7 separate regions of the Homo sapiens genome follow, and regions 1, 2, 3, 4, 5 and 6 are each linked to region 7. Evidence: promoter capture Hi-C in 16 types of primary human blood cells and fetal thymus (Javierre and others, 2016). All regions are on one chromosome and are shown on one strand. The core of a region is centred on a gene start or on the middle of the fragment in contact, and the rest is flanking DNA. Distances in the headings are between cores, read along the strand shown. Region 1 overlaps UBXN4 (UBX domain protein 4). Region 2 has its middle 5.0 kb from the start of MCM6. Region 3 holds the start of ZRANB3 (zinc finger RANBP2-type containing 3). Region 4 overlaps DARS1 (aspartyl-tRNA synthetase 1). Region 5 has its middle 13 kb from the start of GYPC. Region 6 has its middle 4.0 kb from the start of UBXN4. Region 7 holds the start of FAM168B (family with sequence similarity 168 member B).

Region 1 (3,419 bases), core at 533-3,032, 4.7 Mb before region 7:
GTAGTCTTGTCAAAAAGAATAATGAAGCTGACTTGATCAAGTCTGTAGCTTTACCAATTTAGAGGAATAAAGGGGATAGAGGAACATCTTACACAATTCCATGGGGATGCAGTAAAATCCAGACTGTGGAAAACTATAGGAAAAACTACCAGGGAGAGCAGAAATCTATATATTAAATTTAAAAACACATCAACCAATAGCAATATATCGAACTGTAACTCAAACTGAAAAAAAGTATAATATAAATATTGCCTAGATAATTGATGACAAAAAGGATTACTATTAAGCTTTCTGGCTTTGATAATAGTATTGTTGTTATTTTTAAAAATTTCTTATCTTTTAGATATTGATATTTTAAAAGATGAAATCATACAAATGCCTGAGATTTGCTTCAAAATAACCTGGAAGGGTGGTCATATAGGGAGACAGATAACAAAAACCGAGCAAATAATGGGAATCACTGACGCAGGATGATGAGTACCTCGAGTTCGTTATTCTGTTCTCTCTACTTTAGAATATGCTTGCAAATTTCCATAATTAAAATTTATTTTGGCTGGGCGCAGTGGCTTACGCCTACAATCCCAGCACTTTGGGAGCTGAGGCAGGCGTATCACCTGAGGTCAGGAGTTCGAGGCCAGCCTGGCCAACATGGTGAAACCCCGTCTCTACTAAAAATACAAAAATTAGCCGGGCATGGTGGTGCACGCCTGTAGTCCCAGCTACTCGGGAGGCTGAGACAGGAGAATCACTTGAACCTGGGAAGTGGAGGTTGCAGTGAGCCGAGATCACGCCACTGCACTGCAGCCTGGCCAACAAAGTGAGACTCTGTCTCAAAAAAAAAAAATTATTTTAAAAGGCAACTATATATAATCTTAAAAGATTTATATTCCTTTCTTATATTTTAGAGATACATATTGAAATATTTTACCTGAGATTTGTTCTAAATAAGTTGAAAAAGAAGAGGAGTGGAGGGCACAGATGAGAATATTGGCCATGAAGCTAGGCAATGGATTAATGGGGTTTTCTTATACTATTTTTTTCTACTTCTATGTATGTTTGAAATTTTCCATAATAAATAGTTTTAAAAAGCTACAGGCCTGGATCCAATGACTCATGCCTGTAATCCCAGCACTTTCAGAGGGCAAGGCAGGAGGATTACTGGAGGACAGGAGTTTGAGACAGCCTAAGCAACATAGTGAGACCCCATCTCTGCAAAGAATATAATTAAAAAATTAGGCTGGGCGTGGTGGCTCATACCTATAATCCCAGCACTTTGGGAGGCCAAGGCAAGCAGATCACCTGAGGTCAGGAGATTGAGACCAGCCTGATCAACATGGAGAAACCCCGTCCCTACTAAAAATACAAAATTAGCCAGGCATGGTGGCGCATGCCTGTAATCCCAGCTACTCAGCAGGCTGAGGCAGGAGAATCGCTTGAACCTAGGAGATGGAGGTTGTGGTGAGCCAAGATTGTGCCATTGCACTCCAGCTTGGGCAACAAGACCAAAATTCCATCTCAAAAAAAAAAAAAAAATTAGCCAGGTGTGGTGGTGCACACCTGTAGTCCTAGCTACTCAGGTGGCTGAAGCAGGAGATCACGTGGGCCAGGAGTTGGAGATTATAGTGAGCTATGTTTGTGCCACTGCACTCCAGCCTGGGTGACAGAGCCAGACCCTGCAGACACATTTTTGTAGAGACAGAGTTTTGCCGTGTTGTCCAGGCGGGTCTCAAACTCCTGGGCTTAAGCAATCTGCCCACCTTGGCCTCTCAAAGTGCTGGGATTATAGGTGTGAACAACCACACCTGACCAAAAAAAAAAAAAAATTTTTTTTAAGCTAAAAAAAAACTGAGATTAGAGCTGCTACTCACCTCAGGTAAGCCAGAGCTTGCAGTTTTAGTCTAGCCAAGTTAATTGTCTACTAAAACAAAAACAACACTCTTTGCAGGAATATAATGAAATCCAGAGTGTCTACAACAATGTACAAGATACAATCCAGCATTTTTTGACATATGAACAAACAAGAAAATGTGACCCATTCTAAAGGGTAAAGGTGATCAACACAAGCCAATCCTCAGATGAGCTAGATATTGAAACTGTCAGACAAAGACTTTAAAGCAGCCATTATAACTCAAATGAGGAAAAGGGAAATACACTTGAAATGAATTAAAAGAATAAAACGTAGATGAAGAGTACTCATTCTGCACAACTTCTGTAACTTATGAGTCAAACTATTTCAAAATAAAAAGTTATAATAAGAGAGAAAGAAATAGAAATCCTACAACTAAAAAATGTATAACATAATTTTATCTAAAATAAAAAATTCACTGGATGGGCTTAACATCAGAATGGAGATGATAAAGAGTCAGTGAACTTGCAGATCAACAGAATTATCCAATCCAAAGAAGAAAAAATAAGTGTGAAAAAATAAACCTGTGGGACAATACCATGAAGCCTAATATACATGTAATTCATTCCAGCAAGATATATGGACCAAAATTCCCAAACTTGGTGAAAGTCACACATTTACAGATGTAAGAAACTAGGCAAACCAAACACAGGATAAATACAAAGAAAAATACACTTAGGCATATCACAGTCAAATTGCTAAAAACCAAAGAAAGAAAGAAATCCTGAAAGCAGCCAGAGAAAAGCAACATACTCCTTACAGGGGGGAACAATCAGAATTTGTGGAGACTTCTCATTAGAACACTATGAAGACCAGAAGACGGTGGACAATACCTGTAACTGTAAACAAAAATTTTTATATCCAGCAAAAATATCCTTCCAGAATGAAGATAAAACAAAGTCATTTCACATAAAGAAAACTCCAGACCTGTACAATAAGTAATGCTAAAGGAAAATTTTCAGGCTGAAAGAATATTATACCAGAGGGAAACATGTGTCTATCTTCAAAATGGAATGAAGAATTTTGGAAATGATATATATCCAGGTAAATACAATTAAAGTAATTATTCTGTCGTAGACCTAAATGAACATCCATAATAGAGTCCCCCCGTTCCGTACACATCCAGAAGTTGAATGATCCATCCGATGTAAAACCTCAAAATGAGACAAATAGCTGTATTTCAAATATTCAAAACCTGTCATGTGTAACTCCACAAGGCAGCATTAATGTTAACAGGAAGTTATGGGGCATCAAATTTCAGCTCAATATAAGGAAGACTCTTTCTAAAAACTAGAGCTGTTCAACAACAGAACAGGCTTCCTAGCAAGGTAATGAGCTTCCCATCATTGAATGCATTCAAATAGAAGCTTGATGATTATTTGTGTGGGATGCTGGAGTAGATTCATCTTTTAGGACACTAATATCCTAACATCTTGATTTATTTACCCCTCGGTTGCCTAATACAAAGCTATATTACACCAAACAACTCCAACCACAATCCCAAAAATTTCTC
Region 2 (3,066 bases), core at 445-2,944, 4.8 Mb before region 7:
AAATGTTCATACCCTTTCACCCAGGACTAGCTCTTCCAGAAACTTAACCTCCAGAAATACATGCATGCAAAGATGCTAATTGTACTGTTATTTCTAACGGAGGAGCAGAGAGCAAATAACCTAACCTAACCTAACCTAACCTAACCTAAATATCCATCTGCAGAGGATTGGTTAAAGAGAAGAAATTTAATCACTGACTCATGTCTTTGACCAATGTCAAGGATTCTCCAGGGCCTTAACCCCTCTCTCCTTCAAGGTGCTTCTGAGAGGCATGAGCCTGTTACTCAGTGGGGACGACGGAGAAGCCTGAGAGCCACAGAGGGCAAGAGTCATCAATGAGCGACTCAGAGCCCATATGGAGCTGAATGACAGACAAGTGAACCTGGGAGGATCTTAAGGGGGACATAAAAGCATTTTATGGTAGCTATAAAACAAGAGTAAATTTGTATGCAGCTTCATATTTCTTAATTTATAATATAATGTAAAGTATATTTAAAATGATAGGTTATTATGAATTGAGGAGTATATGAAAGTTAAAAGTGAGTGTATTAGCCAGGTTCTCCAGAGAGCAGAACTAATAGGAGGGGGGGGGGGGCAGATTTATTATGAGGAACTGGCTCATGCAATTAGGAGACTGGGAAATCCTATGAGCTGGCATCTGCAAGCTGGAAACCCAGGAAAGCTGGTAGGTAGTTCAGTCTCAACCTGAAGGGCTGAAAACCAGGGGAGACAACGGTGTAAATCTTATCTGAAGGCATACGATGAGACAAGATGTCCCAGTTCAGGCAGTAAGGCAGGGAAAAGAGGGCAAACTCCTCTTTCCTCTGTCTTTTGTTCCATTCAGGCCCTTAACTGACTGGATGGTGCCCACCCACACTGGGCAGGCCAATCTATTATACAGATTCTGTCTATTCAAATGCTAATCTCCTCCAGAAACCCCTCAAAGACACAAGCAGAAATAATATTTAATCTGGGCAGCCCATGACCCACTCAAGTTGGCACATAAAATTAACTCTGTGTGTGTGTGTGTGTGTGTGTGTGTGTGTGTGTGTGTGTGTGTATGGAATTCTGGTGTTCAGCTTTTGGAAAAACTAAGAATCATATAAAAATAACTAAAAATTGCCATTATTTGAACTTATTTTGTTAGACATCATAGTTGAACTTATTTTGTTAGATATCAAGATCAAACTTTGCTTATTTAAGTAATTAGGAAGAAAGTCATACTGCTAAAAACTGGTTAGCAGCTAGCATACATTTGTTGTTGTTGTTGTTAATAAGAAGTAGAACGGGCTGGGCACAATGGCTCATGCCTATAATCCCAGCACTTTGGGAGGCTGAGGCAAGAGTATAGCTTGAGCCCAGGAGTTTGAGACCAGTCTGGGCAACATGGTGAAACCCCATCTCTGCAAAAAATACAAAAATTAGCTGAGTATGGTGGTGCACACCTGTAGTCCCAGCTACTTGTGAGGCTGAGGTGGGAGGATCACCTGAGCCCAGGAGGTTAAGGCTGCAGTGAGCTGTGATTGTGCCACTGCACTCCAGCCTGGGTGACAGAGTGAGATGCTGTCTCAAAAAATTAAATAAATAAATAAAAAAGAAGTAAAATATACCAAATATTTTATAAGATGAGGGTTGACTGCATTGAAAGAAAATATTTCATAATATGAGAAATATCTTATTGAATATTGCACACCACCCACAACAAATCATGTAACTTTTTAATCTGCTGGTTTTATTTAGTGTAAGTTGAAGTGTCAGTGATTCTGGAAAATATTACAGTTATATTTAAAATAATAAGCATCACTAACCTGCACTGCTACAGCTGTTTGAAGGATGTTTCCTTCCCAGCTAAAAACATGTCTCAGGAAAAAGAACCCTTATGTTTTAGAAAATCATTCTGAAATATCTACAAATGAAAAGATACAATGTTTTGCTTCAAAATCATAAGGTAATGGTAAGAAACCGTATACTTTACCTCTGTGATCATCCTTCCCTAACCCATAATCACTGTCTAATCATGAGAAAAACGTTAGACAAATCCCAACTGAGAGACATTGGCATTAAAACTATGGAAAGTCTGAGAAGCTGTTACAAACCAGAAGAGTCTAAGAAGACATGACCACTAAGTGTAATGTGGCATCAGGATGAGATCTGGGAAGAGAAAAAGAACAGTAGGGAAAAACTGGTGAAATCTGAATAAATTGTGCAATATTAGTTAATACTAACATACTAAAGTTGGTTCCTGAGTTGTAATAAATGTATTATAAGAGTGTAAGATATTCACAGTAAAGGAAAATAGGCAAGGTGTATTTGAAAATTCTGTACTATCTTTTGCAACTTTTGGTAAATCCAAAGCTATTCTAAAATAATTTTTTAAAAAGAATCATGGATGGCTGGGCATGGTGTCTCACACCTGTAATCCCAGTACTTTGGGAGGATTGCCCAAACCCAGGAGTTCAAGACTGACCTGGGTGACATGAGGAAATCTTGTCTCTTCAAAAAATATAAAAATTAGCCAGGCATGGTGGTGCACATCGTGGGAGGCTGACGTGGGAGGATCACTTGAGCCCAGGAGGTCATGGCTGCAGTGAGCCATGATTGTGTCACTGCACTCCAGCCTGGGTGACACAGCAAGACCCTGTCTCAAAAAAAAAAAAAAAAAAGGCCCCAGTGTGGTGGCTCACACCTGTGATCCCAGCACTTTGGGAGGCCAAGGCAAGAGGATCGCTTGAGCCCAGGAGTTCGAGGCCAGCCTGGGCAACACAGCCAAACCTCGTCTCTACAAAAAATACAAAAATTAGCCAGGCGTGGTGGCATGTACCTACTTGGAAGGCTGAGGCAGGAGGATCGCTTGATCCCAAGAAGTCGAGGCTGCAATGAGCCGTGATTGTGTCACTGCACTCCCGCCTGAGTGACACAGCAAGACCCTGTCTTTAAAAAAAAAAAAAAAAAAATTTTAGACTTCCAGGTATTCAGCATAAATCACATTGTACAGTTTAGGTACAATGAGCCATCATTATCAAGGGATAGTGTTATATCGATGTAGAGAATTATTTACCAGTCAAG
Region 3 (3,084 bases), core at 161-2,660, 4.4 Mb before region 7:
CTAAAAAAGGTTTCTTACAGTTACAATTAGGTAAACTATAACCATGAAGATATATATATATATATTTAGAAAATTTTATTAGAAAAACCATTTGCTGTTCACTAATCCTAATTTGGAAAGCACCTCTTCTTCACCTTTTACTTAACTATCCCAGGACAATTACACACGGAGCATGATAGTCCCAATAATTTAAGTTTCTTTATAAAAACAAGCTCAACAGAGTCACCCTTTGCACCTAGTCACAGCAACAAAAGAAAACAAAACACCAAAAAACTTCAAAGCCCACAAAGATTTGTTGGCAGCCTAAGGCTCAGGAATCAAAACGTGTGTAAATCTGATCCCGGGGGACCGTGGCACTGACAGTCATTCAACTTTCTTTTTAATATTCCCATTGTGCTTTTTCTGGTACCACAGGGAAAATGTACCTACATTTTACCAACCGGTCGAAGCTGAAAATTCTCTTGGTGCAAGGCCAGGGGATGCGGCCGTGGGGCGGCCGGGGGAGCCCGGGGCACCGGCGCCAGCCACACGAGAGAGCAGTACCACGCTCTTGGCAGGCCTGCTGTGGCTGGCTCCCGAGTCCCTGGGGCTGCAAGAGCAGCCGCGGAGGCAGCAGCAGCAGCCATGGCAGGGACTCGGAAACCTTTCCCCTGCCTCCTCCGCTAGGCCTCGAGGGGTTTGCTTTTCACATGGCCCCCGGGTGGGGGCGGTGGGCACAAGGCAGTGGCTGCAGCTGCAGCCGGAGCCGCAGCCGCGGGCCAGGCGAGCCTGGCTCACTCGGAACCCGACCTAACGGCGGGCTGGCAGCAGCGGGACGTCAGAAGGCCCTGGCTGAAGCGCCGACGACCCGGCGGGGAAGGCCACCTTTCCACACACCACATCTCTCCCCTGCCTGCCTCCTTCTCCGTTAGCGCTACCGGTTGGCGGGCGGGGGAGGGGAGCAAGGCGCGTTATTCCCGGGGAGCTGGACGGGGGAGGGAAGGGCATCTCTTACCCGCGTTACTGAGGAGGAGGAGGCGGTTGGAGCGCGGCGCGGCGGGGCGACGGCGGGGCTGGGTGGGTGCAAGTAAGAGTCTTACGAAAGGGAATTAACCCCATCACCAGCCCGGACACCGGCTCCAGCGGCAGCCGCGGCTGGCAGAATCCCGCCCCTTCCCACCACGCACTAGCCCCGCCTCTTCGTTCTCTTTGAGCGGCAGCCGACTATTCATAGGTTGTACGTCCCCGGAGTGACATGAGTTTTGCCCAATCAAGCTTGAAAAAAACTGTCTTCTCTCCACCCCTTTACCTCCTCCCAGGCCGCGGAGAGCCGTGCCAAATCTTCCTCCAACCTCAAGAGAAAAAGAACCAATCCGTGGTAAGTAACCGCCCTTGAAGGACGCAAAAGCCAACCAATGGTAAAACTAGGAGGACAGCCATTTTGCCCACTTGTAAAAGAGCTACCTTTTCCCACGAGTTGGAGCCTGAGGTGCGGAGTTTCGTGAGTTTTTACTGACTCGAGGTATTTAAAAGACAACCAGATCTCCTCAGTGGGTATTTATAGTGCTTTTTAGGGGTAAAGGAAAATTATCCTCCATGTGGGGCGAAGTGAGGCATGCTGCTTAAGGGGTTGGCTCCTCCCCTTAGCGCTAACGGGTTCTGAAACGAACACCTGGTTTCTCCAGCTTCAGTGGCGGAGGGCGGGGTGATTGCTCTTTTCGGCCTGGAGCGGACTACGATTCCCAACATGCTTTTCCCCTACTCATAACTTCTCCTCCGTTCACTTGTCGCGGTGCTTGGCTGGAATTGTAGTTCCTGAGAGGTACCCATGCCGCCGCTTCAGCCAATGAAAAGGGACAGAGTTTTGAATGACTTGAAATTAGGGCGGAGAACGAGTTGTCGCGAGGCTGTACAGAGCCCTTTTCGCAACCCTAACGGGAGAGAAGTGATGGAAGAAGGGTAGCCGGAAGAGTTTCCTCAAAATACCATAGGGGTTTTAAATTATTAGTACGTATTTAAACTCATCTACTTTCACGTTGTCCCGTTGAACGTCACTTCCGCTTAGGGGCGGACACGTCCCAAACCTGTGGCGGGAGTTGGAGATTCTGCGGCGAATACGCCAGGTGTGACTGGCTGGAAGTGGCGTGGCTGGCAAGTCGCTAGTTTCTTGCATGGGAGATAAAAAGTTGAACGGAATTTAATGGCATTTTAAGAAAGAGTGGGTGACATGGGATGGGGGTAATTTCCAGGGCCCTTATTACTTTCTCCACCCCGGCCTTCAATCGCGGGCGTCTCGGCCTGCTCGCTATTAGATTGCACGGCTAAATTTGTAGAAAGTACCTCTACTGCCTTTAGTCTTCGCGTGGTCAGTTTGAACTGTAAAGACAGGGCTCCGAAGTTCTGAACTACATTTACAGACACACTTTTTTTTTTTTTTTTTGAGACGGAGTCTTGCTCTGTCCCCAGGCTGGAGTGCAGTGGTGGGATCTTGGCTCACTGATTCACGCCATTCTCCTGTCTCAGCCTCCGGAGTAGCTGGGATTACAGGCGCGCGCCACTCAGCCCAGCTAATTTTTTGTATTTTTAGTAGAGACGGGGTTTCACCATGTTGGCCAGGATGGTCTCGATCTCCTGACCTCGTGATCCGCCCACCTTGGCCTCCCAAAGTGCTGGGATTACAGGCGTGAGCCACCGCGCCCGGCCACAAACACACTTCTAAAGTCAGCTTGGAAGGAAAAGAGTCACAGAAAAGGGCTTTTCTGTTTGAAGGATTGATAATCAAGAGTGGCCCCATCACCACTCTTTGAGTAACGACCATTTATTAAACGAGTGGCAGACAGGCGCGGTGGCTCAGACCTGTAATCCTAGCACTTTGGGAGGCCGAGGCGGGAGGATTACTTGAGGTCAGGAGTTCGAGACCAGCCTGGGCAACATGGTGAAATCTTGTGTCTGCTAAAAACTCACACACACACATTAGCCGGACGTGGTGGCAGAGATCTGTAGGATCTGTAGTCCCAGCTACACGGGAGGCTGAGGCAGGAGAATCGCTTCAACTTCGGAAGTGGTTACAGTGACCCGAGATCGCGCCACTGCACTCCAGCCTCG
Region 4 (3,123 bases), core at 540-3,039, 4.9 Mb before region 7:
CATGGACGCGGCGGAAGTGGGTTTCCTCCTTTCCTGGGCCTGGGAGGACAGACCCCTGGGCCGGGCTGCGCCGAGGGAGGGAGGAGGGGGAGTGGGGCCCTACAGGTCCTTGTCGGCACGTTCTCCGCAGGCTGCGGGCGTGGGGTCCGGGCGCCTAGAGCCCTTGCCCCAGCAGTGGGGCCAGACCCTCTCCGGACCGCGTTTCTTGCGGGGGTCACCTGGGAGTTTGGCCTACTAGAAGCGTGTCCCCGGGGTGGGGAGGACGGGAAGAACCAGCCGCCCCGGAAGTAGGAGCGCGGCGTCACACTTGAGTCTCTCTGGGTTAGGCACGTCCTGCACGTAATGCACAATCCCTGGGAAAATTTTAATAAGCACTAGTAATCGATATGTACTCAGCCCTCGTGTTCCTAATGCTTTAGCAAGTAATGACAGTACTTAGCAAAACCATCTGCCAATATGTTTAATGACCATTTCCCATGTGACAGCTTTAAAGAACACATGTCATTTTTATTTACTTTCTCCCTCTCAGTGACCCGGTAAGGTAGGTAATAGGAGTTACCGAGAATGCATTTGAGGTGAAGTGACCCCAAATCACGTGGATAATTCATAACACCCAGTGATCCTTCGGTGCTTTTCAGAAATCAAAGTTTGAAACCATCCTACAAGTTATGTGTGCTGTAGTACTGTTAAGCCTTAATTTCCGTCTGGCTCCCTAATTTTTCTATAAGGAGTTCTGAGTTTGTGGTAAGCAACATGAGAAGTAAGGTCATCTTAGAATACTAAATGAGGAAGAGTCACTGAAATATTAATAGTACTAATTATGAATGCAACTTTTTTGTCCTTCACACAATTTAATCTCCTTCTGTTGCCCTCAGGCTTCATTGTGTGACTGTATCTCTCTACTCTGGCCAGGGTTATCTTTTTCTTTAAATTGTTCAGTAAGCGCCTTAAACATGTCTGGTTTTATTTTGGTGTAAACACAAAATCCAGCACCCTCCTGCTCTAAAGGAGAGGATTCCAACAGGTAGCTGTAAAGTGACAGAAACTTAATTGTTTCATACAGATCTTAAGTTACCTTGTAAAAACTAGGGCAATTATTTTTGTGTACTCTTAATCTGCTTAATTACATAAACTATCAGTGTACCCTTACAGATAGTATAGGTCTAGATACAAGGTAGACATTGTGGCAGAGTTATGCCATTTTATAGCTAGAAGAATCTTAGATCATTTTAGAGGTAAAGTAAGATTGAAATAAAGGCCACTTATCTATTTAATAAGTATATTTTGTTAACAGATTGGACCCTAGGTCTTCTGTTTCCTGTTCCTAACTCTAATCTGTAACAAGAAATTTGATATTATTATATTGTCAGTGTCAAACTCCTGTAACCTGGTATCCTGAATCTGGTTTTTAGAAACAGGAAGCTGGTGAATTTTTTGATGATGTTTTACAAAAGGAAAGTTGTAGTTAGCTTATACCCAGCATCTCCAGTTTCTAAAAACTGTGGACATCTGGTGCTCAGAAAGCTTACCCAAAACGTTGGTTCTCTTTGAACATTTCTTCCTGTAATAGGAAGTTAATAAAACTGTGGTACTTCATCCTACTCCCTTCACAGAGGAAATTTATGTCCCTGCTTTGAAGTAGTTTCATCTTTTTGAAGAAGGTAGTTAAGATGTGTTGTACATATGTGTAAATTTTATCTGAGAATGTTATTAAGTATGGTAAATCCATCTAGGAGTGGTGATCTTCAAAACAAACTAACCAGAAACAGTACTTTTCTGTTTTCTGTAGAGTACATATGTAAATGAATGAGAGATTTCCACATTATGAAACTACTGACTTTCTGAATTAATAAAATGATCCTGAAAGTTAAATTCATTTTTATATTCTATTATTAGTATTTATGTGTTTACTGTGCTCTTAGTGTTTACATAAAAAGTCACGATGCAAAAAACTTTTTTTGTAGGATTATGCTAAAGAGAGATATGGAATATCTTCAATGATACAATCACAAGAAAAACCAGGTTAGTAGCTATGTGACAGTAAATAAAGCTTTTTTGCTTTCTAATTCCAGGAAAGCTCTAAATGAAATTTTAAGTAAGGTTGGCATAAATCTGAAGGTATAATTCTGAAAAGCTTAAATGACATTAATAATCCAAGTAGATGTCATAACCCTGTGTAAACATTGTCAGTTTAGGGTTCCAACTCTAGAAAAGGAAAAAAAATGTTATTAGGTATTGTAGGTTAAATGGTATGTTTTAAATGGTAGATTATATTTTTTAAATATTCCTAAATTATTAGGTAAGATTCAACCGTTGTCTAGGAGATAGGAGAGTGGCTAATAACTGCCTTCATCACATGTAGCCTTTTTGCATGCTTTAATAAAGCTACCTCTTTTACTTCCCCCAACCCCCACAACTTTACTTCTCTGACTGTTTTTAGCTATTATTTATTCCTATTTTGCTTGACTCTTCCCAAACATTTATATTTTCACTTATTCTCTACAGCATCCTTGAAAACTAAGGAACCAAAGTTGAAAGATAAGAAACTTGACTTACACAGAGTCTGCCAGACTTGGGATTAGAACCAAAGGCCATCTGACCCTAGAGTCCATGGGTCCTTCCATCTTACATCTTCTCTGGCTTCTTTGGCAGTACTATGATTTGAGTTTTAAAGCCTCCACCCCCACTCCATTTTGTTTACTCGTAGCTTTAGTGTCTGGGAATGAAATGAATTATTCTTAGACCCCAGTCTATCTTTTCTTATAACCGCTCTTTTTTGTTAGTGTATGTTGGCATCTTTATATTTCTTTTTTTTTTTTTTGGGAGACAGAGGCTCGCTCTGTCGCCCAGGCTGGAGTGCAGTGGCATGATCTCGGCTCACTTCAACTTCCGCCTCCCAAGTTCCTACAATTCTCCTGCCTCAGCCTCCTGAGCAGCTGGGACTACAGGCGCACACCGCCACGCCTCACTTTTTTTTTGTATTTTAGTAGAGATGGGGTTTCACTGTGTTGCCCAGGCTGATCTCGAACTCCTGAACTCAAGGCAATCCACCCACCTCGGCCTCCCAAAGTGCTAGGATTACAGGTGTGAGCCACCGCACCCGGCCTTATATTTCTTTGAAAT
Region 5 (3,034 bases), core at 233-2,732, 4.5 Mb after region 7:
GAGAAAGGGGAGGTGCTACACACTTTTAAACAACGAGAACTCCTGAGAACTCTATCACAAGAACAGCAAGGGGGAGGTCCACCTCTGTGATTCAGTCACCTCCCACCAGGGCACTCATCCAACACTGGGATTACAATTCGACATGTGATTTGGGTGGGGACACAAATCCAAACCATATTAGGAAGTTTGGGTAATTTTAGGAGAGTAATAAGTGACTTTTAGGGAAATTCAATGGGCTTGAAGAACATACAATGGCTTGTGACAAACTGTTGTGCCTAAAGAACAGACCATGGTTTGTGACAAAAGTCTGCCCAGGTGCGTTGACAGACTTCAGACTTTCTTCCTGACATGTGAGTTCAGTTAATGAAAGCCCAGGGAAGGGACCAGGGATCATGTTTTCTTCTTAGGAAGGTCCAGACTTTAGACAGATTAGGGAACTTCAGAGAACAACTTCATCCTGGGCTTTGGGAGAGACAGAGGATTAACACCCAGGAGGTGTTGGTGGGGAGCTGAGAAAGGGGAAAGCCAGACAGACTTTGAGGATTCTTCAGTTCAGCATGTCAAAGGGCCATATTTTGAGGTATTGATTTCTGAGCCCCAACAGCACCCAAGCATTGTGTGAGGCTGTGGGAGCTGTAGTCTACTCCCCTGACTTACAGCAGCACCTCATTCAAGGGTAGATCTTTCAGCATCCAGAATGGCCCCCTTCTGGAAGCTTCCTAATGGGCATCTCTAAGAGAACAGGAAGAGCATAAAAACTCAATGGGAACACTGGGTGGTCTGGGGTGGGCTGAGGCGATGCATAGGCCAGCCTCAACTGCTGGTGTGCACTCTAAAAGCCGATGTCTATGGACTGGGGTTGAGAAAAGTTGGGAAGCTTCAGACTGAGGGGAGAAAAAAGAAAGAGCCCAGAGAAACGTGAGGAGGAGCTTGAATTTCTAGCAAGTCAGTGAAAAAAGGAGGCAACACATAGGCAACCTGGGTGGTTCAGATGCTCCAGGAAGTGTGTATTTTTCCCTAAAAATGCATGGCAGCAGGCACAGGATTATAGGACCCATTTCCTGAGCATATGAGTATTATTAACTGTCACAGCTAATTGTCACAACAGGTGGTGCTTTGTTTTTGTTTATTTTCCTGTTCACTCTTCATTTGACAGAAGCTGAGGACCAGAGGAGTGACTCTCGCACAGCGGCTCGGTGCCTGAGCTGGAATTCCAACCAGGGCTGTCGCCCTCTAAAGCCCTGCCATGGCAGTGCTGCCAGCTCACTCTCCTTGGGCTCCCTTCCCACCTCCCACATCCCCATGTCCCCATGGACTCCTGGTGCCACGGCACAGCTGCATGGGGGTGATTCATGCTGGACACCTGAGACACAAGGAGAGGAGGCAGGGAGCTGCCGAAAGAGGTTCAGTTAAAAACTTCCAACAATGAGGGAGTGAGTTACCAACTTTCAGGAAGCCTTGTTTGGGTCCCAGCCCTTTTCCCTTTGGGTATAATTTGTTGGTATGACACTGAACTAACACATTGCATCTCGAGCTGCTCCCTGCTGAGCTCTGGAGCCCACTAAGGGATGAAAGCAGCTCCTCCTTAGGCCTTTTGTTGTGGCTTTTTCTCTTTTTGGCCAACAGGAGACAGGAATTTGGGAATTATGCAGATGGGGTCTCTCAGAATCTAGCCCTGTGAAGAATAGGTGAAAAGTCTGTCTGGGCATGGTGTCCTGGATAGTCGTCTGGACATGGTATCCTGGGTGTGGAGACTTAGTTTCTTTCTCTGCAGTAAGAATTCACCTTCTTTTGTTAATGTAGATACCAGGGAGGGGATTCATGACAATTGAATTTCTTTTGGAGAAACTTCCCAAGGAAAACTTCAGAGAAAGCCCCTCCACGTGCTTTGGGAGAGAAATAGGATCCAGAGACAGGGGGCAGGGGGAGAGTCAGAGAGACCTTGGTTCTGAGACTGCTCCTTAGTTCAAAGCACTCAGTGCGTCCAAGCACCACACCTTGGGGTATTATTTTCTGAGCCCCAACAGCTACCAAGAAGTGGGAACAGAATGGTAATGATGTTTGCCACAATTTTGCTATAAGCTTTGCTAGGTAACCTCATTAAATTTCCAGAATGGTCTCACAAGCAAGGACAGAGCAGGATTTAGAATGTGGCAGATGTGGCCTCTCGTTCCTGGTTCGCCACCTACCGCTTTGCTTAGTGACTTTGCCCCCACGTAGGTTAATGACATCTGTGTCTGACGTGCTCTGGAGGGTTGAGGCAGGCTCTCCTGGGAGGTTTGCAGCTTCATTAATGATGATAAAGACAAAGGCTTCATAACGCTATAGAAAAAACTAGAAAATACCATGTGAAATAAACACACATGCGTGGATTAGCTGTGCCATGACCACATCCAGATATAACTACTTCCACCCACAGGTAGGAATGGTCATACCAAGGCCATGGGATATGGGTGACTGTTTATTTCTTAACTGTTTTTTTCTCATTTATAAGTTCCTTTGAGTATTTGGCTCAAGTTCATAGATTTAGCATGTTTTGTACTCTCTCCCTCTGGGGAGCCCATTCCAATTGTATAAAGGAATACTGGAAGAAATAAGCTTGCGAGCTGCACAGGGGTTCCTCCAGCCACCTGTGAGATTTTGGGAATTCCTGGCTGCTGGATGGGGTGTGGGAGTGTGCTGAGGGGGAGGCAACAGAGAGCTGGGGACTGCAGCCCAAAGGAAGCCCAGAGGAAGGGTGTGTGTGCGTGCGGGGTGCGGGGGTCTTAGACTGCCAGAGCCACAGGGGTCTGGGCTCAGAGATGGCTGGTTGGAGGGTGGGGGTCTGAACTAGGGATGAAGACAAGGGTTGAAGGTCTCTGCTTGCAGTAGGAGCATGTATATCCTCCCCACTTCCCCACTTCTGGGTACAAAATGTCAGGCAGGCCACAAAAGTTTATCCACAGGGACAAAAAAGTGTGGATGTCTCTAAGAAACTGTAAGAAAGCCACTAGTGTGGGAAGTGAATGCCTCCTGATGTAGTTTGGATGTATGC
Region 6 (3,377 bases), core at 842-3,341, 4.6 Mb before region 7:
TATTCTGGAGACAGACCCAATATATTTTGTTGATTACATGTGGAGGTTGAGGAAGAAGGACTCAAGAAGGGATTTTGTGGCCAGGTGTGTTAGCTCATGCCTGTAATCCAAGCACTTTGGGAGGCCAAGGCAGGAGGATCACTTGAACCCAGGAGTTTGAGGCTGCAGTGAGCCATGACTGCACCGAGCCATGACTGCACCACTGCACTCCAGCTTGGGCGACAGAGCAAGACCCTGTCTCTAAAAAAAAAGAGAGAGAGAGAGATTTGGGGTATCTGCCTTGCAAAATCGTAAAGAAGATGGTACTGAGATAGGCAACACTGAAAGAAGTGAAGGATGGTGGGGAGGTTGTTCATGAAGGTGTGAGTTCAATATTAAACATGTGTTTGGAGTACTAGAGAGATATTCACATGCAGTGTTAAGTAGGCAGATAGCTATTAGTCTTGGAGCTCAGATAACAGTTCTTAACTAGAGATAGGAAAGTGAGATTTATCTACATACAGGGGATCAATGAGGCACTGGAAGATAACGATACCATCACTTAGGGAGATGGTGCAAAGTGAGGTGAGACACGAGCATGATTGAGGTCTTAGGGCCTCCAACGTTTATAGGGTTGTATTAAAAAGTATAAACCAGTAAAAGAGACTCAGCAGGAAAGGCAGAGTGTGGGGTGGTGGAAGAAAATGGGAGAGTGTGTGATATCAAAGAAGCCAAGGGTAGAGAGAATTTTAAGAAAGGAGAAGCAGTGGTGTGGAATGCTGCTGTTGGGTCAATTAAGATGAGAGACTAAAAAATGTCCATTGTTTTTAGTAACACAGAGGTCATTTTAAGCTTAGCAAGAGCAATTCTCATGGTTCTTGTGTACAGAAGCCAGATGGCAAAAGGTTGAAAAGTAAGGGGAGGTAAAGAGTCAGTGAGTGTGAAGGTGAGAAGGAAGAAAGGAACATTAGCTGGACAGGAATTTGGATTTGAAAAGACAGCCTTTTTAAAGATGGGAGAGATTTGCATAAAATTAAATGCTAGTGGAAAGGAACTGGTCTTAGATTGAACAAATGGGAAAATGGAAGGCCCCTCTGGAGATGGGAGGGAAAATGGGGTATACAGCACATTCTGTTGATGGCCGATCCAGCAGTCATTCTTCTACCATGCCTTCTATTATTCCTTCCTGACAGAATTCACTTTCTACTGAGAGGCAAAACTGCTGGGTGCAGTAGCTCACTCCTGTAATCCCAGCACATTGGGAGACTGAGGCAGACAGATCACTTGAGGTCAGGAGTTTGAGACCAGCCTGGCCAACATGGTGAAACCCCATCTCTACTAAAAATACAAAAATTAGCCAGCCATGGTGGCATGCACCTGTAATCCCAGCTACTTGGGAGGCTGAGGCATGAGAATCGCTTGAACCCGGGAGGCGGAGGTTGCAGTGAGCAGAGATTGCGTCACTGCACTCCAGCCTGGGCTACAGAGTGAGGCCCTGTCTCAAACAACAACAACAACAAAGCAACCTGCCAGATACTGGGCTTTTCAACCTCCCCTTGAAGCCAGTAAAACCTTGTAGGAAGGGTAGGGGGGTGGGAGGGGCTACTTCCAGGAAAAGCTTTCTTAATAAAAGACACATAGAAGAAAGCACAGATTGGGCGCAGTGGCTCATGCCTATAATCCCAACATGTTGGGAGGCTGAGATGAAAGGATTGCTTGAGGCCAAGAGTTCTAGACCAGCCTGGGCAACATAGTAAGAGTGCCTCTACAAAAAACAAAAAACAAAAACAAAAATAAAAAAAGAAAAAATTAGCCGGGTGTGGTGGTGTGTGCCTGTAGTCCTCAGGAGGCTAAGGTGGAAGGATTGCTTGAGCCCAGGAGGTTGAAGTTGCAATGAGCCATGCTCACACCATGGCACTCCAGCCTGAGCGACAGAGTGAGACTCCGTCTCAAAGAAAAAGGAAAAAAAGAAGGCACAATCTTCCTTTGCTGGATGTGGTTATATGCAAATGATGCCAGGTACTGCTGCAGCCATCTTGTGGCCATGAGGAAAGACATTGCTTATGCTCTAAGAATGGCAGAAGGGAATCTAGAAAGCACTTGTGTCTATGATGACCTCACAGAGCTCCTGAACCAACCCTGGGACTACTCAGCCTCCATATGTCTTGTTTTGTGAGATAGTAACTGTCCTCACTAGTTAGGCTACTGGAAGTTGGATCTTGCTTCTTGTAATTACCACCATTCTAAACAATCTGGGGTGGGATCTAGAATACAGGCAGATAGAAGAGATACCCTTCCCATTTTAACAGACAGAGGAAAGAAAAAATAACTTATGTATTTTTGTTGTTGTTGTTGTTGTTTTGTTTTGTTTTGTATTTTTAGTAGAGACAGGGTCTCACCATGTTGCCCAGGCTGGTCTCAAACTCTTGAGCTCAAGCATTCCACCCACTTCAGCCTCCCAAAGTGCTGGGATTACTGGCGTGAGTCACCACACCTGGCTGAAAAAATAACTTCAGATATAAATAAGTTTATTTAAAAAAACAGACATAAATATGTTTATACATTTCAAAACAATAATTTGAGGAAGATTTTACGTGAAAGCTTTAGCTTTTTTTTCCTTGAAGGAGAGGTTATTTGCTGAGAGTAAGGGGGGAAGTAAGGAAATTGACGCCTTGAGTACAAGGAAACAAGGTTTGAAGTAGTGTTGAGTGTTGGAGGGCAAGTGGACTAGGGAAACACAGTGTGCCAGACAGTGCAGAAGGGACTGTGAAATTGGTGGTCTTGAATTTGCCCAATTGTGTAATTTTCTTCAGCGGTCACTTAATCCCTGAGGGCAGGCGTGGAGAAAGTGGAGACTTGGATTTATCCAGGGTTTTAGGTGCTAGGCAGTGGGAGAAAGAACAAATGAAAAAGAAGTTTAGGAGATTAGCAATGGAACAAACAATGTGATGGAACATGGAATCTAAATTGGTTGGGGGATGGGCGCCGTGGCTCACTTTGGGAGGCTGAGACAGGTGGATCACCTGAGGTCAGGAGTTGAAGGCCAGCCTGGCAAACATGATGAAACCCCGTTTCTACAAAAAATATAGAAATTAGCCAGGCGTGGTGGCTCATGCCTATAGTCCCAGCTACTCGGGAGGCTGAAGCATGAGAATCACTTGAGTCCAGGAGGCGGAGGTTACAGTGAGCTGAGATCACACCCCGCACTCCAGCCTAGGCAACAGAGTGAGACTTGGTCTCAAAAATAAATAAATAAATAAATAAATAAATAAATAAATAAATAAATAAATAAATAAGTTGGGGAGGGAAAGAAATGCAGAAAGGAGAAAAAAACAAACAAATAAAATGGTACAGGGGAGGCAATGGCCTGGAGGGCTCAGAGTGGGCAGGAAACAGGT
Region 7 (3,301 bases), core at 676-3,175:
ACTCATTTTATTTCACACATCTATAAGTATCTCTGTAGGCAAACTCCCAGAAGTGCAGCTGTTGAATGAAACATTGTTTGTGCGTTTATTTTGACACACATCATCAGACGATCCCCTTTCCCATCCAGCAATGTCTGAGAGTGCGAGCTTCCTGGCAGCCTTACCAATAGCATTGTCAATTTTTTGGATGTTTGCCAATCACAGTGAAAACTGCTACCTCAAAGAGTTTTAACTTGCATTTTTCTTTATAGAAGTGAGATTGGATATTTTTCATATGACTAACAGCCAGACTTAGTCCTTTGCTGTGAACTCTCCTTTTTCTATTGGGTGGTAGGGCTTTTTATTGTTGACTTCTGGAAGCTTTTGGAATATTAAAGAGATTAGCTTTGTCTATTACATGTGTTGGGACTATTTCTTCCTTGTTAATCATTTATCTTTTGACTTTGCTTATGGTGCTTTTTGCCGACCAAAGCTTTTCATAGTCATGACTTCTGGATTTCAAGTAATAATGTAGAAAAGCCTTCTTTACTCCAATACTAAAAAGGAATTTCCCCATGTTTTCTTCTTGTCCTTTTATCACATTTATATTTTATTTTTATTTTTTTTTTTGAGACGGAGTCTTCCTCTGTCGCCCAGGCTGGAGTGCAGTGGCCCGATCTCGGCTCACTGCAACCTCCGCCTCCCGGGTTCAAGAGATTCTCCTGCCTCAGCCTCCAGAGCAGCTAAGGTTACAGATGTGCGCCACCACGCGCAGCTAATTTTTGTATTTTTAGTAGAGACGCGGTTTCACTATGTTGGCCAGGCTGGTCTTGAACTCCTGACCTCGTGATCTGCCCGCCTCGGCCTCCTATAAGTGCCGGGATTAAAGGCGTGAGACACCGCGCCCATCTGTTTTTATTTCATAAACGACTGAAAAAAGACCAGAGCCAGGCCTCCTCCCTTCCATCACTAATCTTTATTGCAATAACTCCCTCCTTTGTCGTCCTGTACCTAGCTCAGACCAGACGACACCCCAAACACAAACACCAAGACACGCACCTCTTTAATACGAAATAATAAACATACCTCCCCCAGAGAGACACCCTGAACTAACCAAATCATTGTAACTATACACTAAGCCTTACATAAAAATACTAACATTTGGCCGGGTGCGGTGGCTCACACTTGTAATCCCAGCACTTTGGGAGGCCAACGTGGGTGGATCACCTGAGGTCACGGGTTCGAGACTAGCCTGACCAACATGGTGAAACCCCCGTCTCTACTAACACAAAAATTAGCCAGGTGTGGTGGCGGGCGCCTGGAATCTCAATTACTCAGGAGGCTGAGGCAGGAGAATCGCTTGAACCCGGGAAGCGGAGGTTGCAGTGAGCCAAGATCGCGCCATTGTACTCCAGCCTGGGTGACAAGAGCGAAACTCCGTCTCAAAAAAAAACCAAAAAACCCCCTAACATTCTAGTACACTTCCCTGAACTCTTGTCTATAGAAATGATCCCGCACTTCTACACTTGAAACGCTGACTTGCATTCTCTAAAATCTGCACTCCTGAGCGGGCGCCCGCAGCCTCCGCACTGGCAAAGAATCTGTGAGCTGAGCTCCGCCCCGCTCCGACCCCGTAGTGGCGGTCACCCGGGGTGTGCTCGACTCCCGGGTGCGGCCTGAGGATCCGCGCCCTGGCGTCTGGGCACACACAAAGGTTTCTGCGGCGCGGGACTATCTCAAAATATAAATTAAATACTTTTTTCACAGACAGTTAATAAAAAAACTACAGCTACACCCGGCCCTTTCGCCAACTGGGACCGGCCCACTCCGCGCTCGCGCTCGCGCTCGTCCATCCGGGCGTCTCGAGGGCGCCGGCGGGAGCGAGCACGCTGCGCAGTCACGTGCCCGGCGCGCCCCCGTCGCGGCGCGCTCAGGCGGAAGTGAGGTCGGCGGCTCCGGTGGCTGCGCAGCGTCGGCGGGGAGCGCGGGCTGCGGAGAGGCGGGCCGGGCCAAGCGGAGCCGAGCGAGCGGGAGCGCGGCGTCCGGGAGGCGGCGGAGACGCGGGGCTCGGAGGGTCAGCCTCTTATCGTAGCAGGTCTCCTCGGCACGCCCCCCTTGTTTCGCCCCACGGCCAAGCCCGCCGCGGGCCGGCGTGCGCTGGTCACTGAGGCCCAGGTCGCCGCCGCGGCGCGGTGAGTGGGGGCGGGCAGCGGGCGACTGCGCGTCCAGGCCGGAAGTGCGGCGCTTTGTGCGGCCGGCTCGGGGCGGCGCCAAGGTCGGCCCGCGGCTCGGGGTCGCTGGGCGTCTGGACCGGCCTGGGCTGCGCTTTGTGCCGCGGGCAAGGCCGGGCGGGGGCCGGGGGCGGAGCTCGGCCGGACACGTACGCGTGCAGGTGCGGTCCGGGCGGCGCGGGCCTGCCGCCTAGGTGGCCGAGGTGGCTTCGCGGCGCGGGGCGTTCTCCTAAAGGTCGGGGTCACAGCCGTCAGGAATGCGAGCGTGAAACCCGGGGGCAGAGCTTTGTGACAATAGTCATTTCCAATGTGTAACTGCTCACTTTGTCTACCCACGAAGTAAAGATAATTTTTATTTTTATTTTTTTGCTTGGCGGAATCTGAGCGTTCTCCTTCCAGCTTGAAAAGGCACGATTTAAATTACAGATTTTTAAGATTTCCTTCAGAAAGGACGTTTCGTGGCCTAGCCTGGGTTAACTTTGAAAAAAGAGTGCAGTGCGCCTTTACGACGTCCACAAATAAGGGTATTTCTGTTTTATAGTGTATGTGAACATGAAGTGTGCATCTCATGGGCTGTTTGAGTTAATGTTTAATCATTAAAGTCAAACAAGAATATTTTGCAGTGTTTTCGCATGCAAGGAAGCTTTATAAATAAAAAGGTTTATATAGTTTCCACTCCTTAAACTTTCAGGTCATCCTTGTGTAATTTGAGATCACTTTTCTCAAATACTATGGATGAAAGATTCTAGATTAAATAAAACTTTTTGGTTTTGGCAAAAACAGGACACATTTTTAAGCTCTTGTAGATGAAGGAGTGGGTTATTTTTGCTTTGACAGCCAAGATTTGAGCAGTGTAAGGCTATTCTAATTTTGAAGCTAGTGTTGCAGAAATTGTGAAGATCTTGCTTCTCTTTGTCTTTACAAAGCAGGCTTACTTTGGTGGAGTTCCGTAGTTTAAAGGGAAATTATACCCAAGTTGTCTTAGACAGTTTCTTTTCCTGGATCAATTGAGCACTTTTTTTTTTTTTTTTGAGACGGAGTCTCCCTCTGTTTCCCAGACTGGAGTGCAGTGGCGCCATCTCGGCTCACTG

Evidence for each region. The method cuts DNA at HindIII sites, captures the fragments that hold promoters and counts their contacts. A CHiCAGO score of 5 or more calls a contact.
Region 1: a contact is called between a fragment that was not itself captured here and the fragment with the promoter of FAM168B in region 7, in 2 of 17 cell types (total CD4 T cells and total B cells). The highest score is 9.4, in total CD4 T cells.
Region 2: a fragment that was not itself captured here is called in contact with the fragment with the promoter of FAM168B in region 7 in 1 of 17 cell types (fetal thymus); the score reaches 7.5 in fetal thymus.
Region 3: the fragment with the promoter of ZRANB3 here is called in contact with the fragment with the promoter of FAM168B in region 7 in 10 of 17 cell types (total B cells, naive CD4 T cells, non-activated CD4 T cells and 7 more); the score reaches 32.5 in total B cells.
Region 4: a contact is called between a fragment that was not itself captured here and the fragment with the promoter of FAM168B in region 7, in 2 of 17 cell types (fetal thymus and M2 macrophages). The highest score is 9.8, in fetal thymus.
Region 5: a contact is called between a fragment that was not itself captured here and the fragment with the promoter of FAM168B in region 7, in 1 of 17 cell types (total B cells). The highest score is 9.7, in total B cells.
Region 6: a contact is called between a fragment that was not itself captured here and the fragment with the promoter of FAM168B in region 7, in 9 of 17 cell types (total B cells, neutrophils, naive B cells and 6 more). The highest score is 23.9, in total B cells.

What each region holds. Positions count from the first base shown.
Region 1 is chr2:135,756,190-135,759,608 of GRCh38, reverse strand. All of the region lies in intron 5 of UBXN4 (UBX domain protein 4), which reads right to left. Among named protein-coding and RNA genes, the nearest start is that of UBXN4, 16 kb to the right of the region's middle. The HindIII fragment of the contact is 2,986 bases long and covers 290-3,275 here.
Region 2 is chr2:135,879,870-135,882,935 of GRCh38, reverse strand. No RefSeq gene overlaps it. Among named protein-coding and RNA genes, the nearest start is that of MCM6, 5.0 kb to the right of the region's middle. The HindIII fragment of the contact is 3,748 bases long and covers 1-3,066 here.
Region 3 is chr2:135,529,544-135,532,627 of GRCh38, reverse strand. It overlaps ZRANB3 (zinc finger RANBP2-type containing 3), which reads left to right and starts at 1,410. Exons shown (of 21, transcript NM_032143.4): 1 at 1,410-1,501. R3HDM1 (R3H domain containing 1) reads right to left here and starts at 1,144. Exons shown (of 27, transcript NM_001378107.1): 1 at 995-1,144. RefSeq lists a silencer at 978-1,167 and enhancers at 1,135-1,429, 1,398-1,667, 2,018-2,097. The HindIII fragment of the contact is 14,144 bases long and covers 1,257-3,084 here.
Region 4 is chr2:135,982,296-135,985,418 of GRCh38, reverse strand. DARS1 (aspartyl-tRNA synthetase 1) reads left to right here. Exons shown (of 16, transcript NM_001349.4): 1 at 1-16; 2 at 1,965-2,022. It overlaps DARS1-AS1 (DARS1 antisense RNA 1), which reads right to left and starts at 243. Exons shown (of 4, transcript NR_110199.1): 1 at 1-243. RefSeq lists an enhancer at 1-46 and a silencer at 97-156. The HindIII fragment of the contact is 526 bases long and covers 1,527-2,052 here.
Region 5 is chr2:126,641,907-126,644,940 of GRCh38, reverse strand. No RefSeq gene overlaps it. Among named protein-coding and RNA genes, the nearest start is that of GYPC, 13 kb to the left of the region's middle. RefSeq lists enhancers at 1-95, 176-225. The HindIII fragment of the contact is 1,205 bases long and covers 880-2,084 here.
Region 6 is chr2:135,736,148-135,739,524 of GRCh38, reverse strand. No RefSeq gene overlaps it. Among named protein-coding and RNA genes, the nearest start is that of UBXN4, 4.0 kb to the left of the region's middle. The HindIII fragment of the contact is 983 bases long and covers 1,600-2,582 here.
Region 7 is chr2:131,092,084-131,095,384 of GRCh38, reverse strand. FAM168B (family with sequence similarity 168 member B) reads left to right here and starts at 1,925. Exons shown (of 7, transcript NM_001009993.4): 1 at 1,925-2,171. RefSeq lists a silencer at 1,752-2,471. The HindIII fragment of the contact is 2,381 bases long and covers 475-2,855 here.